Linked DNA regions of Homo sapiens: all the other regions are linked to region 3. Evidence: promoter capture Hi-C in 16 types of primary human blood cells and fetal thymus (Javierre and others, 2016). All regions are on one chromosome and are shown on one strand. The core of a region is centred on a gene start or on the middle of the fragment in contact, and the rest is flanking DNA. Distances in the headings are between cores, read along the strand shown. Region 1 overlaps KIF5C (kinesin family member 5C). Region 2 overlaps LYPD6B (LY6/PLAUR domain containing 6B). Region 3 holds the start of LYPD6 (LY6/PLAUR domain containing 6).

Evidence for each region. Contacts are between HindIII fragments. The CHiCAGO score rates a contact against its expected background, and 5 or more counts as called.
Region 1: a contact is called between a fragment that was not itself captured here and the fragment with the promoter of LYPD6 in region 3, in 2 of 17 cell types (M2 macrophages and M1 macrophages). The highest score is 5.9, in M2 macrophages.
Region 2: a fragment that was not itself captured here is called in contact with the fragment with the promoter of LYPD6 in region 3 in 2 of 17 cell types (M2 macrophages and M1 macrophages); the score reaches 7.4 in M2 macrophages.

What each region holds. Positions count from the first base shown.
Region 1 is chr2:148,997,938-149,002,173 of GRCh38, forward strand. KIF5C (kinesin family member 5C) reads left to right here. Exons shown (of 26, transcript NM_004522.3): 19 at 463-572; 20 at 2,486-2,587; 21 at 2,785-2,845. Among named protein-coding and RNA genes, the nearest start is that of LYPD6B, 39 kb to the right of the region's middle. RefSeq lists enhancers at 1,334-2,267, 2,268-3,199 and a silencer at 1,538-1,832. The HindIII fragment of the contact is 719 bases long and covers 1,799-2,517 here.
Region 2 is chr2:149,044,316-149,049,004 of GRCh38, forward strand. The region is part of intron 1 of LYPD6B (LY6/PLAUR domain containing 6B); the gene reads left to right. Among named protein-coding and RNA genes, the nearest start is that of LYPD6B, 8.0 kb to the left of the region's middle. The HindIII fragment of the contact is 4,023 bases long and covers 1,177-4,689 here.
Region 3 is chr2:149,328,276-149,332,329 of GRCh38, forward strand. LYPD6 (LY6/PLAUR domain containing 6) reads left to right here and starts at 2,312. Exons shown (of 5, transcript NM_194317.5): 1 at 2,312-2,447. It overlaps MIR9899 (microRNA 9899), which reads right to left and starts at 2,098; the gene lies at 2,003-2,098. RefSeq lists a silencer at 1,929-2,398. The HindIII fragment of the contact is 3,268 bases long and covers 189-3,456 here.

The sequences.
Region 1 (4,236 bases), core at 908-3,407, 330 kb before region 3:
TTCAGAGTGCTGTTGCCAAAAGGTCTCCTTTGGACATCATCATAAATCTGTGCAGTGGGCAGGGCAGGGGCTTTTATCTCAGTTTTACATGTGAGGGAGTGCAGCTCACACAGGTTACAGGCTTATCTGGAGGTTACGTGGATAGGGAGAGGTTGGTGCCCTCTGACTGACCTGGCTGGAGAAGCTCAGGCTGGGCTGTAAAAGGTCAAGGGAACACTTTTTATTTAGTTGGTGGGCTAATTGGCTTCTAGGGCCAACTTGGTTTGATAACAGATCTTGGGTTTTGTTATCCCAATAAAGCAAGGCCGGGTCCTGGGGGCAAAACAGCCAGAAATGCCCCCAGTTTTGGGATCTGACATCTGAGGGACACAGGGAAGGAGGTAGGTCCAGATCCAGGGCTTGTCACAGAGTGGGCTGAGTGCCAACGAGTAGATGACATGTTTCTCTTGGCCTGGGATGCAGAAGGCGCTGGAGCAGCAGATGGAGAGCCACCGGGAAGCTCACCAGAAGCAGCTGTCCAGACTCCGAGACGAAATTGAGGAGAAGCAGAAAATCATTGATGAGATTCGGGAGTGAGTCGGCCCAGGGCACCAGGGGTGTGGGGGTGGTCATGCCTCGGTCCTCTTGGGGAAGCCTGGAAGGATGTGGCTCTTAGTCGAGGGCCCTGCTCACCTTGCCCTGTGGGCACTGCCCTGGTGACACAGCAGGCTGGGCGGGCTGCTTCCAAGGTCTGTTCTCCGATCTGGAGCTGAGCCTCCTGGAGCCCTGGCATGGCAGGTGGCAGGCGGGCCCAGCTGCCTCTCCTAGTCCCCGAGGGCCAGGGTCACATAGGTGATTCCGCTGGATGGACGCATGCCCCAGTAGATGGGGGGGAGCATCTGTAATGAAAGCACCAAAAAAAAAAAAAAAAAAGAAAAGAAAAGAAAAGAAAAAAAAAAAATTTGGTCCTGACTACAGGATTCTAGTAGGTTAATAAACACTCGAGAGAAGACAGCACCACCGCCTCCCCTTCTCCCCCTACACATACACGCTCACTGGGCAACCCAGCCACCTGGTTCCATGTGCTCACTTCTTAGGGCCCCACACTGTCATGTGTCTGTGCAGGTAGAGGTGCCAGTGACCTGTGGCACTGCCACCAGGATGGCATCATTGCAGTTTCTCTCAGGTGACACCCCCTCATGTTGTGCTCCTGCCTTGTCGCAGCCTCTGACATGCCCTCTGCTCCTTCAGAATAATGTTTTCAAATGCTCTGCATAAAAGACCTGGGATTACAAAGAAAACCAATTATATTGAAATGCTGACCTCCCCACCCCCACCCCACCCAGGGTCTACACTGTTCCCTCCCCTCCCGCTTTCTGTAGATGAAGAAACAGATTTCTATATGGGAAGCAAGGCGAAATGATTTACTTAAGGTCACATTGCTAAATAGGAATCAGATTGGAGTTAGACTTTAATTCTCCAGACTACTGATCCAAGTCCCTTTTCAATGTGTGTGAGCCGCTCGAAAGGTGCATTTGCATTTTAAAAGAGGAGAATGGTAACCCAAGCAAAAGTCTAAATGGTGTGACCCAGGCTCGGTGCCCAGTTCCTGAAGGAAGGCACTTAGCCTCCTCCCTCTTTTTCTCCTCTTCGGCCATCCCCTGCTGTTGCCATGTTGTGCTTTTCCCCTTCAGGGATATCTCACATTCGTTATTCTGATTAATCACCCTCACAGATTCGACTGGAAGGGAGGGGGAGGTTGGAGGGAAGGAAGAGGGAGAAAGAGGGTTGGTTGGTGAGTGAGTTAGGTGGAGGGGGAAGCTTCCCTGGCTTGTGCCTTTCAAATGGACTCTGGGTTTTCCTTCTGGTAGTGCATAGCTGTTCCTTTACAGGCGCTTAGGCGTGGCTCTAGGAAAGGTTTTATGAGTCCTGGGCTGATGTAAATGTTGACCAAACACCCTCAACCAGATGGCGAGTTTCTGTTTGCAGCAGAGCCCAGGCTGTCTTTTCTTCATAATTCTCTCTGTGCCCACTCCTCGAGGGCAGGAACTGTCCCTGTATCAGTGAGGCATTCGGACTTGGGAGATGTTTTTAGAACATCAGACCAGAAATGAGGGAAGGTGGAAATGGCCAAATCAGGTTCCCCAAGTGACTGCATGCCATCCGAGGGGCCGAGGAAGCAGAGTTCTTCTGACATGGGCTCTCTGTTTTAAAATATCAGCCCTTCTCCCATCTCATTATTTTTCCCCTGAAGCTCTTGCACAAGCAAACTATAAATACATCCTCAAAGCCTTATGTTTCATGACTCTTAGATGCACCCCAGAAATTAGTTTTCACTTGGGCACGGAGGAAGCTGTGAGGCTGTTCTGTGATCCCTCCAAATCCTGCAGAATTACTGCCTTTATTGTACAGAGCTAATAGGGTTGGAACAGAACCACGGTTTTAGCCTGATGACTCAGAATTTCAGACTGATGTGGAATATATTGCTTTTTCCTCTCAATTTCAGTTTGAATCAGAAACTGCAACTGGAACAGGAGAAGCTTAGTTCTGATTATAACAAGCTGAAAATAGAGGACCAAGAGAGAGAAATGAAGCTGGAAAAGCTCTTGTGAGTGCACTCTAAATATTTCCTCTATTTTCTCTCATCCCCATGATATTCTGGTTAGATTGGGCTAATTTAAAAACAGACAATGGCTATTTGTGTGCTTGTTGGTGGGTTTTGTTGATTTATCTGTGGATGCAAATAGTATCTGCTGAAATCTCTGAGTCCCCTGTGGTGGTCTATGGTTCCTTTTTGTTTTTCAGATTGCTCAACGATAAAAGGGAACAAGCCAGAGAAGACCTCAAAGGGCTGGAGGAGACAGTGGTATGTCAAGATATTTCCCGATTTATGTTTGTCTCCAAGACCGGATTCATTTGTGATTTGTCGGATTATTTCAAAATTTTATCCATGCACACCTTTCTGTGTAATGTTTTAGATAAGACATTCTATGGAAAAGTAGGATTTGTAGAATTTAGTCCTCAACTTTTCACAGAATCAGTCAACCAATCCATCTATCCTTAGAGCAGTAACCTGGAGCCCCTGAGTGAGGATTAAGCTGAATTGCAACTTAGCAATTTTACAGCCCTGCACTTTGTGACATACTTCCACTCAACATTCAACAGATATTTATTGAGCATCTCCTAACGGCTGGCATTCTTCAAGGTGCTTGAATATATCCATAAACAACAGAGATAAGATCCCTGTCCTCATGAAGCTTACCTTTAGCTGTGGGAGACGATAAACAGTAAGGAAACAAATCTTGCACTCTATCAGATTGCTATAGAATGTGCATAGGTTGGTGCCTGGGGGAGGCTCCATGAGGATGTGACCTTTGAGCAGGGACTCGAAGAAGGAGAAGAACTGAGCACAGAGATGTGTTGGGGAGAGCATTCCAGGCAGAGGCAACAGCTCATGCCAAGGCCCTGAGATAAGCCCGGGACTGTCCTGTTGGGGGCCAGCAGGGAGGTTTGTGTGGCTGCAGCTGAGGGAAGGACAGGGATATAAGGTGAGCACAGAGAGGTAAAGGCTTCAGTGATTCAGGCCAGGTAAAACCTTGAGACCTGCAGGGCTTTGGGTGGAGGAGTGATGGGCCCAACCTACCTTTGGAAGGGCTTGTTATTTGAAACCCTGGTTGGTTTTCTCTGTCGTGTGTCTGGGTTTGTTGGCATCATCTCCTCTGGTCGGCTTCCATTTCAGCTGCTCTGTGGGATAGCTGCCTGGCTCCGTGCCCCACAGCCTGCGCTTTAAGACAGACCATTCTAACATAGCCTCTCCATTTGGTGAAAACACGTTCAGGCATTTCACATGATTCAATGACAGAGAGAAACCGTTGGTTAGATACAGTCATCCATTTTGGCTCCGTTCATGGGTCATGTGGATCTGTGTGGGACTGATCCATCTTCAAGGACCTGGTGACCCCACATTGGTGGGAACTGGTTGCTTGGGTCTGGCCCTGAGATTGTGCTCTGGCCCATGGACTAGTCATATTTGTTGGACCTCAAAGCCAGGGAGAGGAAATGAGGGCACCAGCCATTGGAGACAGAAGATGCCTGTGTCCAAAGGGAGCTGGGCCTTTGGAGCATGGAGGAGGAGCCTGTGGAGGGGGCTGCTGCCGGGGAACCCGAAATGAAGCCATGAAATTGCTTCATCTACATCTGTTTTACCAGAGAAGTGATAATCCTAATTATAGATAATTATAGAAATTCAGAAAAATA
Region 2 (4,689 bases), core at 1,938-4,437, 280 kb before region 3:
GTTTTCAGGATATAGATCTTGCACATATTTTGTTAGATTTATACTTAGGTATTTCATTTTGGGGATTGCTGTTGTTGCTGGTATATAGAAATAGAATTTATTTTTGTGTGTTGGTATTGTATTCTGTGGCCTTGCTAAAGTTACTCATCTGTTTTAGGTGGGTCCTTTGTAGATTCTTTGGAATTTTCTACATAGACAATCATATTATCTGTGAATAGAGACAGTTTTATTTTTCCTTTCTAACCTAAATGCCGTGTCTTTCTTTCCTCCCTCCCTCCTTCTCTTCCTCCAACTTATTGCACTGGCTAAGAATTGCAGTACAATGTTGAATAGCAGTGATAAGAGAGAACATCCTTACTTTGTTTCTTATCATGGAGCAGGCAGCAATAAATCTTTCACTGTTAAGTATGATGTTAGTTGAGGTTTCTTGTAGATACAATATGATGTTAAGAAATTTCCTTTGTACTCCTAGTTTATTGACAGTGTTTTTTAAAATTATGGGTGGATTTTGAATTTTATTGAATGCTTTTTTTACCATCAACTGACAGAACCATATGAGTTTTCTTAATATTTAATATGGTGAATTGCACTGATTGATTTTCAAATGTTGAACCAGACTTACATTCTCTGGATAAATTCCACTTGGTTGTAATGTATTTTTGGAGGGGACTAGGTAGATTGGTATTATTTATTCCTTCAGTGTTTGGTAGAATTCTCTAGTGAAACCATTTGGTCCTAGAGTTTTCTTTGTTGGAAGGTTTTTAACACAAATTTAATTTTATAAATAGATATAGGACTATTCAGATTATCTATTTCTTCTTGATAAGTTTTGTTAGTTTCTATCTTTCAAAGATTCAGTCCACTTCACCTAAGTTGTCAAATTCATTGATACAGAATTTTTTGTGGTGTTCTTTTATTAGCCATTTATGTCTGAATGGTCAGTAATAATACTCCCTCTTTTATTCTTGACATTATTAACTTATGTCTTCAGTCTTTTTCTTGCTCAGTCTGTCTAGAGGTTTATCAATTTTACTGATCTCTTCAAAGATCCAGATTTTGGTTTAATTTTGTCTATTATTTTTCTGTTTTCAATTTAATTGATTTCTGCTCTTATTTTATTATTGCCTTCCTTGTCTTTGCTTAGGTTTAATGTACTCTTCTATTTTTTAAGGGATAAGCTTATATTACTGATTTTTGTTTTAATAGAAGTATTTAATGCTATACATTTCCCTCTAGGCCTTGCTTTAGCTGCATTATACAATTTTGAAATGTATATTTGAATTTTCACTTAGTTTAAATATTTTAACATTTCTTTTGAGACTACTTATTGACCCGTATGTTATTTTAAAGTATATCATTTAATTTTAAGATATTTGGGGATTTTCTAGAAGTTTTTCTGTTATTGATTTCTAGTTTAAATCTTTTATTATCCTAGAATATGACTTGCATGATTTCTGTTCTTTTAGATTTGTTCATATTTGTTTTATGACCCAGAATGTGGTTTATCTTGGTGAATTTCAATGCACACTTGAAAATATGTGTATTCTGCTATTGATGGGTGGGATGTTCCAGAAATATCAATTAGGTCAAGTTGCTTGATAGGGTTGTTCAGGTCTTCTGTGTTCTTATTAATTTTCTGCTTGTTTTCTCTATAACCAAGAGAGGAATGTTAGCATTTCCAGTTACAATTGTGGATGTATCTATTTTTCTTTTTACTCATATCACTTCTTACTTCATGTATTTTGACTCTATGTTGTTAAGTGCATACACATTTAGGGTTGTGATGTCCTCTTGGAGAACATCTTGATCCCTTTCTTATTATGTGATGTCCCTCTGTATTTCTGTTAATATTCCTTTTTCTGTAGTCTGCTTTGGGTGTTAATAATACAGATACTCCAGCTTTTTTTGGATTAATGTTTGCATTGTATATCTTTTTGTGTTCTTTTACTTTTAACCTATATTTAGGTTATAAAATAACCTGTATACTTAAGGTGGCTTTCTTGTGGCAACATATACTTGAGTCTTATTTTTTCAACTAATCTGACAATATCTGTCTGTTAACTGGTATGTTAGACCATTTACACTTGCTATGCTATTGATATGGCTTAATTATAATCTACCATCTTGCTAGTTGTTTTCTATTTGTTCTATCTGTTCTTTTTTTTTCTTGTTTCTTGAGCTTTTTTTGTTGTTGTTGTTGTTTATTTTGTTTTTTGAGATGGGGTCCCGCTCTGTCACCCAGGCCAGAGTACAGTGGCGCAATCTTGGCTTACTGTACCCTCGACCTCCTGGTCTTGAGCATTTTTTTATATTTTCCTTATCTCCACTATGGACTTCTTACCTATGCCTCTTTACATTTTTTTAGTGATTGCTCTAGAGTTAATAATATGTATCTTTAATTAATTAGAGTCTACTTTCAAGTAGTATTATACTGTTTCATTTGTAGTCTTATAGCAGTATATTTACAGTACTTCTCTTTTATGTTTTGTGCTATTGTTATTATCATTTTTTAATATCAGCTATAAATAAAAGATTTTTTGCTTTAGACCAGGGGTCAACAAACTTTTTCTGTAAAAAAGCCAGAAAGTAATTATTTTAGGCTTTGAGGCCATAGATGGTCTCTGTTGCATATACTTTTATTCTTAAACAATTCTTTACAAATGTATTTCAAAAAACATTCTTAGTTCATTGGTTATGCTAAAACAGACCAGGGGCTAGGTTTGGCTTGTAGGTTATAGTTTGCTTACTCCTGCTTTAGACATTCAGTTATCTTTTATAGCAATTAAAATTAAGAGAAAAAATAATTTTGTTTGATTTTCATTTATATCATTTCCATCATTGTTTTCTTTGTGTAGATCCAAGTTTTGGTCTGGCAACGCCTGGATAACTTAATTTAACATTTGTTGTAGTGTAGGTCTCCTGGCAATGAATTCTAAGTTTTTGTTTCTCTTTGATTTCTATTTTTCCTGCATCTTTGGGAGATATTTTACTGGGTATAAAATTCTGGGTTGACAGTTTTTACGCTTGATCTTAGCTAAAAGGCTGAGAAGCAATGGGTTGACAATTTAAAAAAAAAATTCAGGACTTTAAAAATGTTGCTTCATTCTCTTCTTGTATGCCTCTGACAAGAAGTCTTCTGTAATTCCTATCTTTGTTCCTTTTCATTTGATGTTTCATTTTTCTTTTGCTGCTTTCAAGATTTTATTTTTGTCTTTGGTTTTCAGCTCTTTGAATATGATATGCCTGGGAGTGTGTGTGTGTGTGTGTACATGTATGCATGCGTGCACACTCTTGATATTTATCATACCTGATGTTCTTGAGCTCCTTGGATCTGTGATTTGGTATCTGTCATTAATTTTGGAAAATTCTCAGCAATTATTTTTTCAAATATTTCTTCTGCCTATTTTCTTTCTTTTCTCCTGAAATTTCAGTTACACCTAGGTTTGAATTTATGATACAGTCCCACAGCTCTTGGGCACTCCATTCGTTTTTTGCTTGTTTTATTCATGTTTTTTCTCTTCTTATTTAGTTTGGGTAATTTCTACTGATCTATTTTCAAGTTCAATGATTTTTTCCTTTGCTGTATCAAGTCCACTGAAGAATGCCTGTTGAAAGCATCCTTTATTTGTTACTGTCTTTAGCCTTTCAAATATTTCCATTTGATTCTTTCCTGCAGTTTTTCTCTCTGATAACATTTTCCATTTAATCTTTCAGATTGTCTACCCTTTCCACTACGGACTTTTATAATTAATTTTGGTTATTTAAAATTCTTTGTCTGATAGCTTCAGCATCTAGGTCTGGTTCTATTCATTGCAATGTCTTTTCGCAGTATGATCTTTTCTTGCTTTTCTCATGCCCTATAATTTTTTTTTGTTGATAACTAGACATCTTATATAGGACATTAGATATGGAGATAGGCTTTATGCATGGGAATGGGCACGCCGTTCTCTTTTTACCAGGCCTTTAGTGTGAAGATTGATCAATCTAGTCAGAAGATGAACTGGGTTTGAGGGTTCTCATTCCTCTGGTTATTCTCAGTGTACCCCCAGACTTCAAATTCCTCTAGTGATGCCTTGTATTTAGGGTTGGAGCTGGCTTGCCAAAGGCCTTTGCCATTCCCATCTTTTGGTCTTCCTGTGGTACTGGGCCCCAGAGTGGTCTGTCTCCATGCTCTTTCAACTCTCCCAGTGGTAGTCCATTGTTATTTGTGACCCGATGCTTGTTAGTCAGTGTCCAGGTACATCTGCCTCAAGTAGACAAGTGCTCATGTCTTGTCTCTTCCTGCAAGTGCCTCTCTAGATTTTGGGCTAGTTTGTTCTCCTTTGCCTCAGTTTTCTCATGGATTTGAGAAGGTTATGATCTTGTGCTTTACCTGGCTTTTTATTTTTTGTAAGCATGGTAATAATGTTCTTTTCAGTTCTCTACATCCTGAGCAGAAATCAAAAGCCCTGATTTCATGTTTTCAAGCTCTTTCTTTTGGTGATCTTCTTGTAAAATACTGGTGTCGTTTCCCTTCCACTTATGCTTTATCAAATATAATTTACACATTTCATATGTATAAATCAGTGGTTCTCAGCCCTTACTTGGGAAGCATGAAAAGGAAACACAGATTTTGGGCCCCAGTGTTTCAATTAATATACGTCAGGATTAGGTATGGATATCGTTTATAAGCTCCCCAGGTGAGTCTGA
Region 3 (4,054 bases), core at 1,062-3,561:
TAGACATGGGTGTGTGAAGGTCCACGGACAGGCAGTTGTAGGTGGAGCAGAACCATCCTGCCTGCGGAACTGTGAGGACAGAAGATGAGACCAACGTGGAAAGCTGGGAACGGACTGGGAAGGAAACGCCTTGCCAACCAGGCTCCATTTGAACTTCCTCACAGTGGGGTTGGAACTGAAGAATTTTAAGCTTGAAAGTGACATGATTACATTAGTGATTCTGAAATAGAGAGGGCAGCGTGTGGTCGACTGGAGAGCAGAGCAGTGAAAGCCTGTTGCTGAAGCGCTGGTAAGGCATGATGAGGTCTGGCAGTGAAATAGAGATGCTGGGAGGGATGGATCTAGAAGTCATCCTAGGAGACAGAAACACAGGACTGGGCGATTGACAAGATGTGAAGGGAAAAGCAGAAGGAAGATTTAACATTTTCGCTCTTCTGATGCCTGAGGAGTGTTGTATGTTGGTAGTCAACATTTTAAAAAAATTTTTAAATTAATATTAATGTTCTTTAGAAAATACCGTAAAGTATAAAGAACAAGAAAACCATCCATTATCCCAACACGCAGAGATAACCACTGCAGACATTTCATATGCATATCTTTCCAGCCTTCTTTGAAAATATATTTCTGAAAAGAGATCCTAAGGGTTCCATCTCTACCAGGAACTCGGCTCTCATAAACTGCATTAATACGTTGAACTTCACTTTGAACCCAAATATGAATATTTTCACTAAACTATGCACCGATTTTTTTTAAATAAAGTGAATAAGTACATGGACCGGAACTGCCAACTGGAAACTAAATGAGTGTCAGCAGTGACACCCGGGACATGCCCTCATTAGTAGATGCTAACCCGCAGAGGTAACCTGCCTAGACACGGAGAGACATTTCCAAGTTCAGGTTGATTAATTCATATTCAATTCATTCACCCTGCTGAGCCCTGCAGGAAGACAGCGCGGCAGCGATCTCCACCTTGAGGGGGCGCTAATTATTTTTTGCCTACTTGAACCCTGAGCTTGGGCAAGCCTGTGCACATACACTAAGAGAAAAACTTTCTGAGGTCTAGCAGCTGTCGATCAAAAATAGGTTATCCTAGGCCCTTCCAAATAGAGGGACTGGGGAAGGAAGTTTAATTTAAAAAAGAGTAAGAATGTTTTTATGTTGGGATGGATAGATTATTGGGAAGGCAGGGTGATTCAGGAGAGGCCTGAAAAAATGCTCCAGGGGTAGAAAATCCAAGGAGAAGGTGGAGGGGTCTCAAAGATCGACAAATAGCCACATGGCGGGCCGCCCTTACGAAGGTAGCCTTGCAGGCCAAGTTCGGGGGGAGGTGGGGAGGCTGGTTCCGAGTTTCCGGGCATATCCGTGGAGTCCTTCCAGACCTTCCTGGGGACCTTCCCCGGTCACCCCGGCTCCCCGCCGGCCCCCCGCGCTGCTCAGGGGAGAGTAGGACTATGACCCACTTCCACTCTAAGGCTCTAGATCGAACCGTCCAGGGGGGTCAAACACGATTTACAACAAGGAAGAGAAAAACCAATACGTCCCAAGAGGGCTGCAGGGGCTTTAACTGGAGGAAGGGTTGGGCAGAGGGTGGCAGTATTATGCCCTGGACTTTTTTGCACCAAACCCATAACCGGATTCCCACTTCCTAAGACCTGCCTTCCTGGCTCTTCCCACCGCCTCCATGCTCCGCCCCGCAGCTTAGGTCTTTTACTGCAAACGTCAAGTGGTCTCCGCCTTCCCTGGGTTCGGAGCTTCACTTGCTCTTGAGCTCTGCGGTCCGGCGGATTTCGCGGGGCCCAGGGGATGGCGGGGAGTGAGATTTGGCCAGGGTCATTTCACACTGCCGGGCCTGCAGCCACGCACGCAGCTGCTGGCCCGGCTGAGGCTGGCGGCTAGGGAGAGGCGCCAGGGGGTCGCGCACAGGAAGGTATCGGTGCACCCTGAGCAAACACTGCTCGCTTCCAACGCTCACTGGGAACAGGCTTCCCGGGAAGGTCCCAAATCTCTCCAGTTCCGCTCACCCTGCGGGCGGGAGCGCGGCGCCCGGGTGCCCCACCTGCGCCGGGCGGTCGGCTCCCGCTGGCCGGAGTTTGCAGACTTGGCGCTCAGGCCGATTCTCCCGGAGTTGGGCCGCGCGCGCCGGGCCAATGAGCGCGCCCCGCGGAGGGCTCCGCTCCCCCCGCGCGCGCTGATTGGTCCCGCGGCCCTCGAGGCCGGGCCGGCCGCGGCTGCGGGCGGCGGCCAGTGCCCGGCGCGAGTGGGAGTGGCGCGCGCGCCCCTAGCCGCCCCCCGCCTCTCCCCGCTGCGCTCCCTCGCTCCTTCCCTGAGCTCCCGGGCTCCGGCAGCGGGCTGGCGGGGCGCCGCATTGCACACTCTGGGGGCGCCGCAGTGTTCGTGGGATGGGGCAGCGGGCTGCAGCTGGCGGCCGGAATCCGCGCGCAGCCCGGGTGAGTAGAGGCGGGCTTCCCGGGAGAGCACAAAAGAACAGGGGATTGGTGCCAGCGGCCCCGGCTTAGGCGGGGCCTGGCCAAGGCAGGGAGTGCGCTGAGTCCCTGGAACTACCCGATGCTAGGGCAGTCCCCTGGGGCCAGAGGAACTGGGGTCCCGGCCTCCGGCGTTTTGCCCCTAGTGGGCAGAGAGCCCCGCGAGTAGCCTGGACGGGTCCAGAGGGGCGTGTGTACTCGTGTGTGTTGGGCTGGCGCGTGGAGGGTGGGATGGAAAGGTCAGGAGCTGCCAAGTTCAAGGCTGGAGGAACCTTTCCCAGGAGTAATTCAGCATCTTCTCACGGCCCAACATGCGTCCACCAGGAACTCCAGCCGGAGGGAGTTCCTGGGCGGCGGACTGGCAGCACCCCACATGTTGCTGCGGGGCGGGGGGCAGTGGCGGTAGCCCGGCTGCGGCCACCCGGAGCCTCTAAGGGAGGTGCAGTGTGCTGGAGGTACCTCCCCGCCGCTGCAAGACCACGCTAGGCCTTTCAGCCATCCACCCCGACAACCCAGGGAAGGGACCATCCACCCACAGAGTTGGGATTTGGCCTGGGCTTGACTTGGCGACCTGTTTTTCTCTCCGGTAACAGCAGTTCCGTTGATTCACATTTGGCTAAGCGTTCAGTTACAACCTAAAGCTCACTATCTGACGGTCTGACTCGCTCTGACCCCCACCATATCCTCACTATCTCTACCGCTGCCCTCCTCCAGTCCCCTCTCCCGCCCCAGTATCTGCCCTGCTCCTCACTGCGGGGCTCAAAACTTGGTGTTTGAGCATGATTGCCTTCGGTGTGGTCCTTGGCATTTTCAAGTGTCACAATCACATCCCGTTTCCTAGAGGACTCCAAAGACTTGTTATAATGGGATCGGGGGAGAGAATTGGGTGGGGGGGAATGGAAGAGGGTCTTTGGTAGTCACTTGTTGGAAGAACAGCATTGACCTCCCAGAGCATATGACAAAAAGAATGTTAAGCTTCTTTCTATGGTAACCTACCCAAGGTGTGACCTCCAAAATTCAATTTTCTTTGTGGGAGGCAAGGGAGTTTAGATTCTCCAGGGGGAAGCTTATTTCTTGTTAAATTGACTTGCGGTGACATACACACTGTTCTGCTCTGCTCTGGCCAGCCATTGCAGATGCCATGATATTATTAGAGCAATTCCCTTAAAGCCATTACATTTTCTTTCGAGTGAGAGGAACTCGAGCTAGCTGTTTAAAATTTTGGATCTGCACCTTATTTCTCTAGAAGACATTAATGGTTACTGTATATGCGCTCACGTGTACCAAGTTTGCAAAAGGTATTTGTGCAATCGCCCATGAAATGGGTTAATGCACATTTATGTTAAACCCATTTAAATGTAAAACATCTATCTGTTTTCAATTTTAGTTTCCACCTCGACCAAAGGCACCAGACTGAAATAAGACTTAAAAGAGGCTTCCTTGTTTAAATAGAGGTTTATAGAACTCTAGTCCTGAGAGCACACAGTAAGCTTTCTGAGCTTGTAGGCACACAAAGCTTGTTAAAAATTGTGAAATGGTTCCTTGAGTTAGAAATAATGGAAATGCTTCCA